Regions from separate parts of the Homo sapiens genome. Here regions 2, 3, 4 and 5 are each linked to region 1. Evidence: promoter capture Hi-C in 16 types of primary human blood cells and fetal thymus (Javierre and others, 2016). All regions are on one chromosome and are shown on one strand. The core of a region is centred on a gene start or on the middle of the fragment in contact, and the rest is flanking DNA. Distances in the headings are between cores, read along the strand shown.

What was found. The method cuts DNA at HindIII sites, captures the fragments that hold promoters and counts their contacts. A CHiCAGO score of 5 or more calls a contact.
Region 2: a fragment that was not itself captured here is called in contact with the fragment with the promoter of GUCY2F in region 1 in 1 of 17 cell types (M0 macrophages); the score reaches 5.3 in M0 macrophages.
Region 3: a contact is called between a fragment that was not itself captured here and the fragment with the promoter of GUCY2F in region 1, in 2 of 17 cell types (M0 macrophages and M1 macrophages). The highest score is 6.5, in M0 macrophages.
Region 4: a contact is called between a fragment that was not itself captured here and the fragment with the promoter of GUCY2F in region 1, in 2 of 17 cell types (M0 macrophages and M1 macrophages). The highest score is 9.1, in M0 macrophages.
Region 5: a contact is called between a fragment that was not itself captured here and the fragment with the promoter of GUCY2F in region 1, in 1 of 17 cell types (neutrophils). The highest score is 5.1, in neutrophils.

The regions. Positions count from the first base shown.
Region 1 is chrX:109,480,463-109,484,021 of GRCh38, forward strand. It overlaps GUCY2F (guanylate cyclase 2F, retinal), which reads right to left and starts at 1,624. Exons shown (of 20, transcript NM_001522.3): 1 at 1,404-1,624. The HindIII fragment of the contact is 1,102 bases long and covers 1,182-2,283 here.
Region 2 is chrX:108,580,840-108,584,398 of GRCh38, forward strand. COL4A5 (collagen type IV alpha 5 chain) reads left to right here. Exons shown (of 53, transcript NM_033380.3): 16 at 144-188; 17 at 2,045-2,098. Among named protein-coding and RNA genes, the nearest start is that of COL4A5, 140 kb to the left of the region's middle. The HindIII fragment of the contact is 812 bases long and covers 1,904-2,715 here.
Region 3 is chrX:108,687,887-108,691,445 of GRCh38, forward strand. All of the region lies in intron 49 of COL4A5 (collagen type IV alpha 5 chain), which reads left to right. Among named protein-coding and RNA genes, the nearest start is that of IRS4-AS1, 47 kb to the right of the region's middle. The HindIII fragment of the contact is 955 bases long and covers 946-1,900 here.
Region 4 is chrX:108,710,941-108,714,499 of GRCh38, forward strand. No RefSeq gene overlaps it. Among named protein-coding and RNA genes, the nearest start is that of IRS4-AS1, 24 kb to the right of the region's middle. The HindIII fragment of the contact is 863 bases long and covers 1,254-2,116 here.
Region 5 is chrX:110,016,548-110,020,106 of GRCh38, forward strand. The region is part of intron 2 of TMEM164 (transmembrane protein 164); the gene reads left to right. Among named protein-coding and RNA genes, the nearest start is that of TMEM164, 15 kb to the left of the region's middle. The HindIII fragment of the contact is 7,123 bases long and covers 1-3,559 here.

The sequences.
Region 1 (3,559 bases), core at 374-2,873:
AATGAAGAAACTTTTGGTGCCCCTCAGATCAAAGTGATTAACTGTCCATTCTAGGTGTAAGGCTGGCATTTTTGTGTTATAATCCAGGTAACTCCTAAGCACAATGCCCACCCCAAATTCTAAAAAGTTAGATTTTTTATACCATTTCTAAAATTCATACAACACGGGTCCCTCCTCAGGCCACATGCCACAAAGTGTCCCTTGGCATTCACTCTCAGTTTTTGTTGCTCTTTTCCCTTTGTTAACTGCAAGATAAACATTTCCCAAGCTGAAGGTCTGCCCTTACATTTTTTCTGGTACCGATGTGATGCATTTGGTGATATTTCTAACTCTGTTAGGACTCCCTGGACAACCAGAAAGTTTTATGTTGCTGTAGGATTTAGTCTTGATCCCCCAACTCAAGATTTTACAGAAGGAAACTTATTCTTTAAAAAAGAAAAAAGAAAAAAAGAAGGGAAGGAAGGAAGGAAGGGAGGAAGAGAGAAGGAAGGAAAAGAGGAAGGGGGAGGAAGGGAGAGGGAAGGAGGGAAGAAGAGAAAGAAGGAAGGAAAGAAGGGGAGGGAGGAATGAAGGGAGAGAAGAAGGAAGGAAGGAAGGAAGGAAGGAAGGAAGGAAGGAAGGAAGGAAGGAAGGAAGGAAGGAAGGGAGGGAGGGAGGGAAAGAAAGGGGCAAGATAGGGGGAGGATGCCCTAAACCTCCACCTGCTGATTTTGGTTTAAGGAAAAAAATTAGCTCACTAAAGTCTTTCCTGGGGTTAATGGGAAATGTGGATATAACTAAAACAAAGTTTGAAGGTATGAAATTTTGGAAATAGAATACTACTGGCCCACAGTTGTTCTGGGGCCATTGCCTAGGTTACTCAGGTGTGAACACCTGCATGGGATCAGACTTCCATGGAAAGCGGCTAGAGCATAGGGATGCATAATTTCATTTCAGGTAGTTTTTACAATCTGATGGGAAGCCTGGCTTCACACAGAAAACCACCGTTCGTTAAACATGTACAAAGAAAGACTATGACAAATAGCTCTGAGGGAAATGGCTCCTCATACCAGCTTGTCAAGCCGAGGACTTCTATGAAAGATTGATTTGTCTTTCTAATTACAGCCTGAATCAAGTTAACAGCTTGTATAAGACAACATCAGGAAGCAATAAAAAAAGAATCATGAGAGAAACTAAACGAAAGCTTGGATGAGAGCCTTTGAGCTCAAATCTTGACTTAAAGTATCTCGAAGGCTCTCTTTAACCCTTCTTTCCTTCTTTCCTTCATTCTTTAAATTTTTTTTTTTACTACATATTGCAGTAAAACTAATGTATCTCAATCAGCGTCTCAGCTCCCAGGTGGGCTGTGTCTTTTTTCCCCCCATTACAATCTTTCTTATAAACAAGAGCTGTCAACTACTCACCAAGTAATTCACCGCTCAAATGTCTTCAGTTTACTGCCTGCGCATGCAGACCACTGGCATAGCTACCTCAGTGTGTCCATTTCTTTGCATCCTCTATGCATTCACAATCCTGTCAAGGACTCCAGTCTGTTGACAAATTCCATTAATGGGGTAAATAATTGAAAGCGTTAGTAAATGTTTTGAAAATCACTCTTCAGCATCCGCAGACCAAGACTTGGATTAGGATTTAGAGTGACACTTCTAATCCTTTAAATTGATCCCACCTGTAGCAGAGTTAGTGCTGACCTAAATGCAATGACCCAGAGATTAACAAACAAATAGAGTCCTCTGGATAAATACGTCCTCCACAGACTACTGCCTTCTTTTACCTTTCAAAGTCAGACACAAACTCTCAGATTTTGCCTCTGTGTTCTTCCTTGTTCCATTCTGTCTAATAACCACCAATCGCCCTTTCTCCAGGACAGTTCTAAATGCCAAAACATTCATCAGCTGTGATTCCAGCCCAGAATATAAAAGGTGATCCAGGCTGGCTCCCTGCAAAATTCAAAGCAGGTGAATTTTGTCTCCTTCTCCTATTCCCCTTAAGTGCCTTCACTGCCTTTCCTCCCAAGAGAGACTCCCTACTTCCCTCTACACCTTTGTACAGAGACATTGTTTCCCCATACTTTAGATGTATTCCTTTTCCTTAAGAAGTCCCTCTCTGTCCTGGGCATCATTCACTCAGGGCCCTGTTCTGGATTCCCAACGTGAGAACTGAGGTGTTAAGGGCTAAAAATGACTTATATTAAATGAGAAATGTTTTTTAATAATAGTTTTATTGAGATATAATTTATCTACCACAAAAGTATATAATTTAGGGTTTTTTTAAAGTATATTCACAAGCTTGTGCAACATTTTCATTATTCCCACAAAGAAATTCCATTCTTGTTTAAAAGTCACTCCCCATTTCTCTCCTCCTCCTAGCCCCAGGCCACCACTAATTTACTTTCTCTATGGATTTTCCTATTCTGAACATTTCATATAAATGGAATCATACAACATGTGATCTTTTGCGAGTGGCTTCTTTGTTTGAATGAAAGAAGGACATGGATGAAATTGGAAATCATCATTCTCAGTAAACTATCGCAAGAACAAAAAACCAAACACACTTTGTTTGAAAAACAAACCGTTTTCAAGGTTCATGCACGTTCTAGCCTGTACCAGTACTTCATTTCTTTTGTGGCCAAATAATATTCCACTTTTTTGGGTATACCACATGATCAGTTGATGGAAATTTAGGTTGTTTCCACCTTGGGCTATTATGAATACTGCTTTTATTACTTTTGTGTAAAAGTTTTTATATGGACATATTGTTTTTATTTCTCTTTGGCATATACCCAGGGAATTGCTGGGTCATATAATAACTCTATGTTTAACATTTTTTGAATTGGCAAACTGTTTTCCAAAGTATATGCACCATTTGGCATTCCCACCAGCAACATATGAGGGTTCTTTTTTGCCTACATTCTTACCAACACTTGTTACTATCTATCAGTTTTTTATTTAAGTATGACAGGCATTTTATATGTACATTATACTTATATGTACATCTTTATGTTCACAACAACCATGAAGGTGGATATTACCCATTCTTTCCATTTTGTAAATGAGGATGCCAAGACTGAGATAAATTAGGCAATAATCATACTTACTGAGTGCCAATGATGTGACAGGCATTTTTGGAAGCCCTGTCTCCTTAGATCTTCACAGTGACCCCACGAGATAGATACTATTTGAATTCCCAGACATCCAGAGAGGTTACAGTAACTTACCAAAAATCACACAGCCACTGGTCAGTAGAGACAGAATTTGAACTCAGACACTCTAATTCTAGTAAGTAATAGAGCCAGAAAATTTAAACGCAAGACTATTTGGCTCCAAGAAAGCTCACGTTTATCCTTGATATATTCCACTAATGCACCCTTGTGCTATCCCTCCAAAGACTGCTTGCACTCTAATAGAGTCTCCAGAAACACACCGTGACTACCCAAAGGAAACAATCCCTAATTGTAGAATTTCAGGTGACCTGATGGAAATACTGGTGCAAGTGAGGGCCCCAGTTAGCATTCTCTATGTAGTGCTGCATGGTGCCATGAGCAACCCCAGTATGGATTTTA
Region 2 (3,559 bases), core at 1,060-3,559, 900 kb before region 1:
ACTACTGACATTATAATGTTGATGTCTAAAAAGTCTACTTAATATAGTCCAAGCCAGGAATAAAGCTTGTTATATTCTTTAACTTTATGCTTCCTAACTAACAAATGTATGTTGTTGCCCTATCATTTCTTTGTATCCTATAGGGTAAACCAGGCAAAGATGGAGAAAATGGCCAACCAGGAATTCCTGTAAGTAGCTAAGGTTCTTTCCCCCTGCAAAACTGGAGACATTTATGTGTTGGTATAACATAAGGTGGCAGAGAAGCAGTATGACAAAAATTGTGGGGTCTGGAAATAGTTTAAATGAATTGAAATTATCCAGTCTTTGTCTTTTGAATATAATTTTCAATTTTTAAAAAATTTTGTGAGTACATAGTAGGTGTATATATTTATTTATGAGGTACATGAGATGTTTTGATACATGTATGTAATGTGAAATAAGGACATCACAGAGAATGGGGTATTCATCCCCTCAAGCATTTATCCTTTGCATTACAAACAATCCAGTTACACCAAATATAAATTTGAGGTTCCTCTATTTTTTAAAGTCAGATTTATTGAGATATAATTTACATAAAGTAAAAGGAACTATTTTTAGTTTACAGTTCTGTGTTTGACAAACACATACAGTTGTGTCACCACCACCATAATCAAGAACACTTCCATCACCTTCAAAAGTTCCCTCATGCTCTTTTTTAGTTATCCCCTCCCTATTCCCCTATCCCAACCCCCTTATAACGACTGATCTTTTGTCAATCTCTTTAATTTTGCCTATTCCCAAATGTCAGATACATTGGATCATATTGTATGTAGCCTTTCGAATCAGGATCCTTTCACATAACATAATACATTGAATTGTGTATCAGTTCATTTTTTTATTGCTGAGTAGTATTTGATAGTTTGAATATACCATGGTTTGTTTGTCCATTTACACATTGAAGGATATTTTGGTTATTTCTGTGTTTTGGCCATTATGAATAAAACTTTTATATTCATATAAAAATATTTATATGAATATAAATATTCCCATACAGTTTTTTTGTGTGTGTGTGAACATGTTTTTTCAGTAAAAGTTTTGACAGGTAATTCTTCTACTTACTACCAAAAAGGGGCATGGGAAATAAAATATGTAAGTCCAAGAACATTATTTCAAGCAGCTTCAGTATCAAGAGTATCCGCAGTAGGCAAGAGTTTTTCAAAGACAGAGAGAATATTTGATGAAATTTGTAAGTTATTCTAAGGGAAAAGGATAATTCTTAACAAGACAGGTTAGAATTACTAAATTCAGATAAATTGGTTTCAGGATATTTTACTAAACAGGCAATCCTCAACTTACAATCTCTAGTTCAAAAATATTTTATATTATAAAATATCAAGAGGTAAATTCAGGGCCTCAGTTCCTGGCTTCTTTTGGAACAATTGGTCTTTGTCTTGATTCAGGCAGCTGTGATATTCAACAATTGCCTCTTAGTGTTTTCAACAAATTGGGGTTGCGGGGTGGGGAGGCTGTTCTCTTGTTCTCTGTTTGCACTGGGAGAACCCAAGTTGGGTCAAATAAAGGCAGCCTTGCAAATAGCCTTCTTTTGAACCAGCAGACAGATCAAATAATGATAATTCTCTGGATATGGGGCTTTGAAGGAGCTCCAACCCTGTTCTTTCCTCTCCAATTGCTGCTAGGCTGCTGGTTTTCACCTTGATTGTGAGGAGAGGTGGTGTGAATAGAGCAAGTTAAAATGCCACAAAGCTCTGAGAGGTGGTGGGAATAGAGCAAGTTAAAATGCCATAAATCTCTGAGAGGTGGTAGGAATAGAGCAAGTTAAAATGCCACAAAGCTCTGAGTTCTCACCAAGATTCAGCTTTTTTTTTTTTTTTTTTTCTGAGAAAACACTCCTTGAATTGCTGCAAGCTTTGGTTAAGTTCTGAAAGTTAATTCTGACTGACCATTTTTGCCAGTATTCTCATTGCTTCTATGGAGAAGACAATCTTTGGAGATTTCCTAACACCATCATTTGTGCTGATGTCACCCTATCCTCTATGTTTTAAAGGGTTTGCCTGGTGATCCTGGTTACCCTGGTGAACCCGGAAGGGATGGTGAAAAGGTAAGAATTTTAATACTTTGAAGTGACTGGTTTAGTCTAGCTAAAATAATCCTTTTCTTCTCCCAGGCTTGAGTTATAAATGGAAAAAGTCTACATAACTAGCTTTTATATTCAAAATATGCCTTCTTTATTCATCTTTTGCTCATTTTTCTTTTATACCACACTTGCTAAATTTTATTCCATTGCCATAAATCACAGTCCATGTTGCAGAAATACATTAAGCATTGTTTAACTTTAGCATTTCCACTGTGAAAAGTCATTGCCTTTACTTTGAGCATGTATCGGCAAAACTTCTTTTTTTCCACAAAGAGAATTCAGCACTATTTTAGTGAGGTCCTCTTACTAAAAAGGCTTATAACTGTGAATGTAGAACGTCGCCACTAAACATTTCCATTCTGTATGCAATTATTGTCTGTAAGTCTGTGGCTAATTCTTTGTTGTTTTTTCCCCCCTACTGGGCCAATGCAGTCTGACTGAGGTCATTTATTTAGTTACCTATTTTTCAAGTGACTTTGAAAGATTGTATGAAGCATACAATTACCAGATTTTTAGCAGGGCACAAAATAACCAGTCCTCCAATCCCTCTTGTTTTTAATTGCTTCGTATCAAAAACTGAAAGCTTTTTGGTTTTTCAGGCAAGGAAGGAAAGGCGTTACAAACTTGAATGTACCCAGAAGGCACATATTTTAATGGTGGTTTATTTTTAAATTAGGTCCAAGTTCTAGCATGGCTTAAAAGGCACAATTAGAATAGATGGAGGTAGGAAATACTCCGATAAAATGATTTTTTGTCAAATAGTATTTGTATATAGATGGATGGCTTCTATGAACAAGTTTAGAGTCAGAATAGAAGTATGAAAAAGACCATCCTTGTGTCTTGGCCAGTAGTAGAGTAACACTTGAATATTGAATATTGTGGTTTTTTTCATGCTGTTGTAGCTACTAATCAAGGATAAAAGTTTTATCTGAACTTGTCTTTCATTAGCTTCTAAGAGCAAGCTCATGAAAGCAATTCAGATTTACTAGCTATTATTGATGATAGTTAAGTCCATCACATCTAAAATGTCTGTCACTAATAGAAATGGCACTACATTTATGTCCTTGACTAGTTTTATGAGAAGAAACATGGCTAAATGTAAAAAAAAAAAAAAAAAAAAAAGTAATTTTTTCACTGATTCTAGTGCTACCATTTTTTTTCTATTATCTTCTTTATAGAGTATTTGTAGTTGGCTAGAAATAGGAATCTTAAAAATCAAAGAATATTACAACTAGAAATACCTTAAAACTCTGGTCCAAAAATCTTTATTCTTTCTATATAAACCAGAGAAGTTAATTAACTTGGTGAAGATTACATAGCTAGTAAATCTGAGACACCATCACAGGTTAGGCTTAGCTCAGAATTGTTTCATTACTTCATGTTGCATTTCTCATTTGAGGTATTTTATGATTGATTTCTGGGTCT
Region 3 (3,559 bases), core at 173-2,672, 790 kb before region 1:
AAGCATTAATTAGCTCTTGTGAGGTACAATTCTTGGCCTAAAGCAGATCATTTCAAAAAGGCCACATTTACTTTTAGTTAGATTAGTTATTAAGGGAACAGTTTCCCTGGGCTCTTTGCAGTATAGCAGCTGCTTGAGTGTGCAGTGTTTATAATTCCTGGGAGATACTTACCTCATCTTTGAAACTGGTCTTCATCAAGTTCATAAGTTCTGAAGAGAATCTTGGTTCATAGATCAAAGAAAGTAAGGTCATTGCTTAATTATGCTAGTTTGTAGTTCCTAAAATAAGTGCCTTAGCTTTATAAAGTATTGCTGGAGTCATTTAAAGCTATATAAAGTATGACATTTCTGTACAAAATCCAGTTCATTTAAGGTGTTCCCATGTATCTTCTCTATACTGGGGTGGACAGCTAGGTTGATGGGATGAGGGGACTAAATCACTCTCAAGGACTCTTCCATCCCCATGAATTCTTTTCCTGGAATTCTGACTTTGGATGTTGAAGTCCCATTGTCTTACCTGGGGCTGCATTTTGTTGTTGTTGTTGTTGTTGTGTTGTTTTTTTTTTTGATACGGAGCCTCGCTCTGTCGCCCAGGCTGGAGTGCAATGGCGTGGTCTCAGCTCACTGCTACCTCTGCCTCCCAGGTTCAAGCAATTCTTCTGCCTCAGCCTCCGAAGTAGCTGGGAATTACAGGCGCCCGCCAGCATGCCTGGCTAATTTTTGTATTTTTAGTAGAGACGGGGTTTCACCATGTTGGCCAGGCTGGTCTCGAAATGTTGACCTCGTGATCTGCCCACCTCTGCCTCCCAAAGTGTTGGGATTACAGGCGTGAGCCACCGCACCTGGCAGGGCTGCCTATTTTAAGACTGACTATCCCCTTTGCCTCCATAAAGACATTTAAGAAGATAGTCTGGGCTCCCAGTTTCTGGGATCTCTATGATGAGAAGCTTCCTGAGATCTCATTGTCTGGGCCATTCATTCTGTGGAAATGTTTCTGCAGCAGCAGAGACCCCGGAGGTCAGCTTTACTCCCTATTTTTCCAAGGCATATGGCCACACCAGTTCTGGCCCACCAGGGTAAGGATATTCACTTACATGTAAGTCAGTGGTCATAGGCCATTTTATGAAACCAAATAATGTAAGGGTTTGCCCAATAGCTTTCTTTTCCATCTTCTTTTTTTCTTCCGTTTATATTTCCTTTTTCTCCTTTTCAACTTTCCTCTGCTACTTTTCTTTCTCCTTTTCACTTGGTTACATCTTTTTAAATTTTATAATTGACCAATCTTCATTAAATTAGTAATTAAATTATCTTTCCATAATTTAATCGAATAATAAATATCTAAATAATTAATTTAATTTAATATCTTCAGGTAATTTTCTCTAGTCTTTCTCCTATAAATTTCTTTTTTGTTCATTCTCTCTACACTGTCAGACTTATAATCAAACTTTAAACTTCAAATCCCTAACCTACCAGGTCAACAGAGGAACCATTATAAGTTTTGAGCACTACGAATTCAAAAATGTAATGCAGTTAGAAGATGGAATCTGCTATCAGCATGTAATTATAACTTTTCAGAATCCATGTATTTTCTCTAATAAGAACAATCAGATTTGGAATCTATAAACTGGCCCTGACTCTGGTACAGTTTAGGCCTCAGACACAGGAAGGCCATGACGGAGCCCAAGATCCTAGGAATGGTCCTGGATTGCAGAGGCTCTGCTGGGGCTCACACAAGGATCACATTGGAAGTATCTTGATGACTAAGCAAAGATACAGGCAGCTGTCACTTTGATGTTAAAGAAACAATTACCTCCTGATCGAATAAATGCAGTCTGTGTTGAATTAGTGGAAGGATTATAGGATGTAAGAAAGAAGACAGAGAAGATGGATTAAATACTAAAGCTTTTCTGTCTGGGAGAAAAGAAAAACATACTGAGAACCATTAGTCTATTAAAGTCTTATAACTATGGGGTATAGAGGGCATTGGGAGTATATGGGATCACTCTCTCTTCGAAAATTTGGAGACTATAACCCAGAATTCTGCATCATTGTGGGCAGCCACAGGTGCAACCAGATACTCCAGATACTTCCATCATTATGGGCCTTCCTTTTATTTACCTTTCTTTTCCTTACGAGACTGGATATTTTCAGCTCTGTCCCAAATTAGGCAGTAGAATAGGTTTTTTTAAATTACTTTATAATGTACAAAGCACTTTCATGTCCATTGTCTAATTTAATTTACACAACTATGATTAAGAAAAATGTATATAAATATTCTGCTTTTTCATTTTATACACAAAGAGACTGGCTAATAGGTTAAATAACTTACAGTTAGAAAGTGATGGAGGTAACACCTGCCAATTCTAAATCCATTTCTTTTTAAATTTTCCCATGTTGTTCACTCTTACATGACTGTGAGTCAGTCAGGTTTTTCTTAACGAGTTTTTGAAAGGGATAAATTAGACTAAATCAATGATTTTCAACCTAGGGAATTTTTTAAGACTCCTAGTCTTATGCCAAATCCATTGTATAAAAATTCCAAATAATTCTGATAATACAGGTTTAAGATCTATTGGTCTTTTATCAGTCATCTTCAGTCTGAGATAAGCATACCCCTTTGAATATATGAAGAATTTCCATGATGCACAGAGGCATTATTTTTTAAAAATCAAATTTCAACTCCTCGACTTTTATATGTATTTTCTCCTAAAGTCAATCTGACTTTAGCAGATGTGCTTTGGGCAATCTCCTTTCCCATGTCTCCTTTGTCTCCTTTCACTGTCATGCATTCCCCACTTTGTAAGAGTCATACTCTTGCACATTGCCTTGAAGTATGAAAACCTCTGACAGACAAATTCAAAGGGATAATTCAAAATAACAGCTTTGCTAAAGATACAATTACCGTTAGATCCAGCAATCCCATTACTGGATATTTACCCAAAGGAAAATAGTATATCAAAGAGATAGTTACACTGACATGTTTATTGTAGCACTATTCACAATAGCAAAGATATGGAATCAACCTAAGTATCCAACAAAGGATGAATGGATAAAGAAGATGTGGTATATATACACAATGGAATATTATTCAGCCATATAAAAAATGAAATCATGTCATTTGCAGCAACATGGTTGGAACTGGAAGTCATTATCTTAAGTGAAATAAGCCAGGCACAAAAAAAACAAGTATCACATGTTCTCACGTATATATGGGAGCTAAAAATTTGAACACATGGAGGCAGAGAGTGGAAAGACAGGTAGCAGAGACTTGGAAGGGTAAGTGTGGGGAATGGGGAGGATGAAGAGAAGTGGGTTAAGGGATACAAACATACAGTAAGATAGAAGGAATTAATTCCATATTTGATAGCAGAAGAGAATGACTATACTTAAAAAATATATTGTACATGAGTGATGGACACCCTAAATACCCTGACTTGATCACTATGGATTATATACATAAAAAAAATGTTCATGTGCCCCATAATTTTGCACAAATAAAAAATTAATGGTTTTGTTAAAGTCTCCATTAACTCAAGCTCTGTAATTCACTTTTAATCCA
Region 4 (3,559 bases), core at 435-2,934, 770 kb before region 1:
AAATTCTATACCCATTAAACAATAACTCTCCATTTTCCGCTCCCTCCAGCCCCTAGCAGCCACCATTCTACCTTCTTTCTGTATGATTTTGACTACTTTAAGTAACTCATAGATGGAATCATGCAGTATTTGTGGTTTTGTGACCGGTTTATTTCACTTAGCCTAATGTCCTCAAGGTTCATCAATGTTGCAGCATATTTCAAAATGTTCTTCCTTTTTAAGGCTGAATAATATTCAATTGTATTTATATTCTACATTTGCTTATCCATTCATCTGTTGATGAACACTTGGGTTGCTTCAATGTTTTAACTATTGTGAATAATATTCCTATTAACATGGCTGTCCAAATACCTCTTTGAGAGCCTGCTGTGAATTCTTTTGGGTATATAACAAGACATGAAATTGCTGAATCTTACAGTAATTCTGCTTTTATAAGTTTGAGGAAACACTATACTGTTTTCCACAATGGCTGTACTATTTTGCGTTCACATCAATAGTGTACAAGGGTTCCGACCTCTCTACGTCATCACCAACACTTATTATTTTCTGATTATTTTCATAGTTACCATCCTAAGAGATGTAAGGTGTTATCTCATTGCAGTTTTGATTTACATTTCCCTAATGATTAGTGATGTTGAGACTCTTTTTAAGTGCTTATTAGCCATTTGTATATCTTTGGAGAAATGGTCTTTTTTACTTTTGACAGTTTAATTATAACGTATCTCGCTGAGGTTGTCTTTGAGTTATTCCTACTTGGAGTTGAGCTTCTTGGATGTATATATTAATGTAGTCCATCAAATTTGGGTAGATTTTGGCTATTATTTCTTCAAATGTTCTTTCTGCCCCTGTATACTCTCCTTTCCTTCTGGTACTTCCATTATATGCATGTTTGTATGCTTGATGGTGCCCCATATTTCTCAGAGGGTCTGCTCACTTTTAAAAAAATTATTTTACCTTTCTGTTTATCAGACTAGATAAACTCATTGGGCCTATCTTCAAAGGTACTGATTCCTTCTTTTGCCAGTCCAAATCTATTGTTGAGCCCCTCTAGTACATTTTTTATTTCAGTACTTTTCAACTCCAGAATTTCTGCTTAGTTCTTTTTATAATTTCTCTCTGTATCAATATTGTCTATTTGGTGAGAGATCCTTCCCAGACTTTTCTTTAGTCCTATAAACATGGTCTCCTTTTGTTCTTTGAGCATACTTGAAATAGCTAATTCAAAAGTCTTTGTCTAGTAAGTCTAAGGTCAAAGCTTCCTCAAGAACACTTTCTATTGATTGCTCCTTTTCCTGTGTGTCAGCCGTAATTCCTTGTTGGTTTTTTTTTTTTTTTTTTTTTTTACTTCTCATACTTTTTATTCACAATTGGACATTTAAAATAATATAATCTGGCAACTTTGGAAACCAGATTCCACCACTACCCCCAACTCCCAGAGTTTGTTGTTGTTGCTATTTTTTGTTGTCTTTTGTTTGTTTAATGGTGTTTCTGTACTAATTTTGTAAAATCTGAATTGTTATGTGTAGCCACTAAAGTCTTTGCTCAGTTAAATTGGTTTCCAGCTAATTATTTTAGAGAGATTTCCCTAAATGACTAGGATTAATAAATCTCCCAGTCATTTCTGAGTGGTTCTGTGTGCTCATTAGGACACATTTTCAACATTCAGCTAGGCAGTTTTTAGCTCTGCCTTAGTCTTCACTCCTTGCTTATATAGAAGCCTCAAGATTAGGCAGTGATGAGAGATTTGGGCCTTCTCATGCCTCTCCTGAGCCTGTACATAGCCCTGGGCATTATCATATCACTACACCTGTACTTTTTCTTCTAGGTTCTTCAAACTATTTTATAACTTTTCAAAGTCTCCTATGGGCATCTCATTCTCCCTCCCATTTTCTTTTTCAGATTTTTAGTTAGCCTAATGTTTTCCCCAACTGTCATTCACCACCTCAGGCAGCTGCAATATTAAACAATTGCCACTGAGTGTTTTCAACAAATGCCCCCAAAGAAAATTTGTTTGCATGGGCAGAGCTCTGTGTCAGGGCAAATAATGACAAGCCTTGTGATTAGGGTGTCCACAGAATCACCAGACAGGTCAATAATGGCCGTTCTCTGGGAATGAAGCTTTCAAAATGCTCCAACCCTTTTCTGCTCCCTCCAGTGGCTACCAGGTGAGTGACTTTCATCATGATTATGATTGAGGGCTATTAGTTTACTAGGCTACTATAGAGCTTGGGGAGAGGGAGATGGGAATAGAGCAAGTTAAAATACTAGGAATCTCACTGTTCTTATTGAGATGCAGACATTTTTCTTAAATAAACACTCCCCAGATTGCTACAAGGCTTTTGTTAATTTTCAGAGTTCTTAAAGAGTTGATTCTGAAAATTTTTTCAGTGTTCTCTTTGCTTTTATGGAGAAATGAATTTTCAGAGTTTCTTAGAGCACCATTTCCACTAATGCCCTCATTTAAATAATAAGAAATAAATAATAAAAATAGTTTATATATAGTTTACATTTTCAATGCTCTTCATTTCTTTGTATAAATCTATATTTCCATGTTGTATTATTTTCCATGTATGAGAGAATTCCTTTGACATTTCTTTACTTTTTCTTTTTCTAAAAAAATTTTGTGAGTACATAGTAGATGTATATATTTATGGAGTATATAAGTTGTTTTGACACATGCGTGCAATACGAATTAAGTACATAATAAAGAATAGGGTATCCATTCCCACAAGCATTTATCCACTGAATTGCAAACAATCCAAGTACACTCTTTAAGTTCTCTAAAATGTACAGTTAAGTTATTATTGACTGTAGTCAGTAAATCAATTGACTACAGTCAATAATAAATCAATTGACTATAGTAGTGCTGTCAAATATTAGGTCTTTTCATTTTTTTTTAACTTTTTTATACTCATTAACCATCCCCACTCCCTCCTCCCCCAACCTTTCACTATCCTTCCCAGCCTCTGATAACCCTCATTCTACTCTCTATGTCCATGAGTTGAATTGTTTTGATTTTTAGATTCCACAAATAAGTGGAAACATGCTATGTTAGTCTTTCTGTCCCTGGCTTATTTCACTTAATGATTGCTAGTTCCATCCATGTTGTTGCAAATGACTGGATCTCATTCTTTTTATGGCTGAATAGTACTCCATTGTGTATATGTACCATATTTTCTTTATCCGTGCATTTGTTGATAGACACTTAGGTTGCTTCCAAATCTTAGCTATTGTAAACAGTGCTACAACAAACAGGAGTACAGAAATCTCTTTCATATACTGATTTCCTTTCTTTTGGGTACATACCCAGCAGTGCATATTTGCTGAATCATTTGGTAGTTCAATGTACAGTTTTTTGAGAAAACTCCAAATTGTTATAGTGGTTGCACTAATTTACATTTCCAACAAGAGTGTATGCGGTTTCTCTGTTCACATCTTCACCAGCATTTGACACTTCTTATGGAGCAGTCTGCTGGTAATGAATTCCTTCAGCTATTATAAGTCTGAAAAAATCTTTATTTTTGCCTTCAATTTCACTAGATATAGATTTCTAGTAAAT
Region 5 (3,559 bases), core at 316-2,815, 540 kb after region 1:
TTGTAACATTTTTGAATACACGTTAATTATGCTTTAGGCATGGTGCTTAGTCTACTGCCTGTGTATTACCTCATTTGCAGCCTTCCAGAAAGGTTGTTTTTTGTTTCATGTAATTTTTTGTTTTTTTGAAACAACGTCTTGCTCTGTTGCTCAGGCTGGAGTGTAGTGGTATGAATATGGCTCACTGCAGCCTTGACCCCTTGGGCTCAAGCGATCCTCTTGACTCAGCCTCCCAAGTAGCTGGAACCACAGGCACGCATCACCACGCCCAGCTAATGTTTTTGTTTTTTGTAGAGATGGGGTCTTGCCATGTTGCTTAGGCTGGTCTTGAATTCCTGGGCTCAAGCGATTCTTCTGCATCAGCCTCCCAAAGTGCTGGGATTATAGGAGTGAGCCACCACACCTGGCCTGTTTTATCTAATTCTTCTTTTCTTTGCTTCTAGCTGATTTCCCCTTTGGTAGACTATAGGCACTGGATGTTCTAGCTGTACTTTCTCAGGTTGTTAAAATGGCAGAGTGATACCAAATCAGAGCTGAAAGAAACCTCTGAGAACAACTAATTTGTTTCTTTTTCATCCCTTGTTTTCCAGATGAGCAAACTGAGACCCAGAGAGGTGAAGTGATTTGCCCAAAGTCACACAGCTAAATAGAAGCAGAGCTGAGTCTCCTGACTCCCATTTCAATATCTCTCTATAATACCACACATGGCCTCCTTCTATCCTTAACCTTCCAGCATGAAAGGAACTAGACTTTTCTTCTTGCTCACTATTAGAGAAATGGAAATCTTGTGCTTTTTGAGCATCATTGTTTATTGCCTTCTTGAAAGTGAGGATCTCCTGGCTGCAGGCCACCTCCTTCCTTTCTTTCTTTCTTTCTTTCTTTCTTTCTTTCTTTCTTTCTCTCTCTCTCTCTCTCTTTCTTTCCTTCCCTCCCTCCCTCCCTCCCTCCCTCCCTCCCTCCCTCCCTCCTTCCTTCCTTCCTTCCTTCCTTCCTTCCTTCCTTCCTTCCTTCCTTTCTTTCTTTCATTTTTTTTTTTTTTGAGACGGAGTTTCACTCTTGTTGCCCAGGCTGGAGTACAATGGCATGATCTTGGCTCACCGCAATCTCCGCCTCCTGGGTTCAAGCGATTCTCCTGCCTCAGCCTCCCGAGTAGCTGGGATTACAGGCATGCCCCACCATGCCCGGCTAATTTTGTATTTTTAGTAGAGATGGGGTTTTTCAATGTTGGTCAGGCTGGTCTCGAACTCCTGACCTCAGGTGATCTGTCTGCCTCCACCTCCCAAAGTGCTGGGATTACAGGCGTGAGCCACTGCGCCCGGCCTGCAGGCCACCTCTTTACCTGGCTGGTATAGCAACTGTTTTTTTCAATTTACTTTCCTGCCCTTGCTTCCTGTCTTCCACAGAGGAGTCTGGCCCTGGTGTCACCATTACTTGCTGTTTGCCCTGGACAGACAGTTCACAGGGATGTGTGTGCTCACTGAGCCTGCATGTAGAGCCAGTATGGGTTGCTTGCAGATGTTGGTTGTTTGGAAATGGGACCCACTCAGCTGCGGATATAACTGAGGCCATCATTTCCTGCCTCCAAATAGAGGCCTGCATCTAATCCTAGTAAACAGTTGTATGGGGCTCCAGGGCAAGGGATCAAAATTAGAACCTTAGTCTAGCAGAGGTGACAAAGGCCAAAGAAGAAAAACGTCAGAATAATCTGTCAGCCCAGTAGTAGAGGTTAGTTCATCTTGGTTGAGTAGTAGAAACAGCACTGGATTAAGGGTTAGCCAGACCTGGGTCCTGGTTGTAGGTTCATCACTAGCTGGTTGACAAAACTGAGTAATTTTGGCCATTCAGGTAGCCTCTCTGTGCCTCAGTCTTCTTATATAATAAGAAATAGAGTGTGGTAGTTAAAAGTGCAGGCTCTGGAGCCAGACTAGTCAGGTTCAAATCCCAGTTCTGCTGCTTTCTAGCTGTGCAACTCTGGGAAAGTTAATTGACATATCTAGGCATGGTTTTTGATTTGTTTTGTTTTATTTTGTTTGAGGTCTTCCAAGTTCATTATTTTTCTTGTTTATTGCTAGACCAGTATACCTAAAGCCTCTGGGTCTGTTTTCTTATCTGCAAAATGGGGATTAATAGTAGTATCTACTTTATGGGGTTCTTGTAAGAATTAAATGCATGACTACATGTGAAGTGTTTAGAATAGTGGTGCATGGCAAGTGTTTAATAAATATGAGTATGGCTGTTATCATCTGTAAGACAGAGATGATCTTTGCCCTTCTTACCTTATAGGGTAAATATGAGAATCAAGTCAAATAAGGTATGTGAATGTGCTGTGAATATATGAATGTGCTGTGAATATAAGAAAGTGCTATCAAAATGAGAACAATCATCATGTCTTGAGAGCAGGAACATTTAAACATTCCCTAGGCCACCTGTTTCTAGAATCAGATATTGATGTTATTTCCTTGGTAGCCTGGCAAAAGGGAGAAAGGTAGGTTTGTATGTAGGGTTATATAAATGCTGGGGCCATCAAGCAATGTAGATCCTGCTTTTTTCTTCCCAGTGTACTCAAGAGGGCTTGAAAGCCATGCATCCTAAGTAAAGTGGTTGGGGGATTTGGAATGAAACAGTATCATCTGCCATGATACTGTTCCTTCAGTACTCTTATCTTATTTAACAGCATCACAATCCATCCAGTGACCCAGGTTAAATCCCTAGAAACCTTGATACATCTCAATTCCACCCTCTTCCTCCTTTTCATCATCATAGTCTCAGTCATCTTGATTCTGCCTTTCATGATCTCTTCCATTTCTCTTCCTTTTCTTCTTTGATTCCCCTGCCCTGGTTCATGTTGTTGTTTATCACTGTCATCATCATCACCTGTCTTGTTAGAGCAGCCTTGTGATTGATCTTCTCTCCTCTATCCTTTACACTACTCTATCCTTTACTCTATCTACTACTCGACCCTTTACACTACTGCCAGAATGATACAAGTAAAATACATGTTGGATCATGCCATTCCCTTCCTCCAAAACCTTTGATAACTCCTTAATGCCTTCATCAGGGATGGTAAACACATAGATGCATACACTTTATATTGTCCCTGGCCGACTGTGCTAATCAATCATAGGCACGCTTTCCCAGGGAGAGTCCAAGTAGATTTAAAATCTGTTTAGCATAGCATTCTAGGTAGCCACTTATCAATCAGTCAGAGCTGGTATTAATATATAGACTAGGGATGGCACATAGATAAAGCCTGTAGAGAAATCTTAATCTCCTTATGATAGGATTCGGTATCTTCTGTGATTTTGGTCCCAACCTTTTTTTTCAGCCTTGTTATTTAGTATATTCTTCCATGTGTTCTCTGATCCAGCCACCAGCACCATGCACTTCCATTCTTCTCTGAGTTTATACTTTGTTTATGCTGCACTGTTAGACAGAAATATTCTTTCTTTTCTCTTCCTGTTGAAATGCTAGTTATCATTCAAGGCTCAGCCCAAACACTCCCTCTTGTGAAGCTGTCTTCAAGCCTCTAAGCCGGATTTAGCCTCTCTTGTCTATTTTA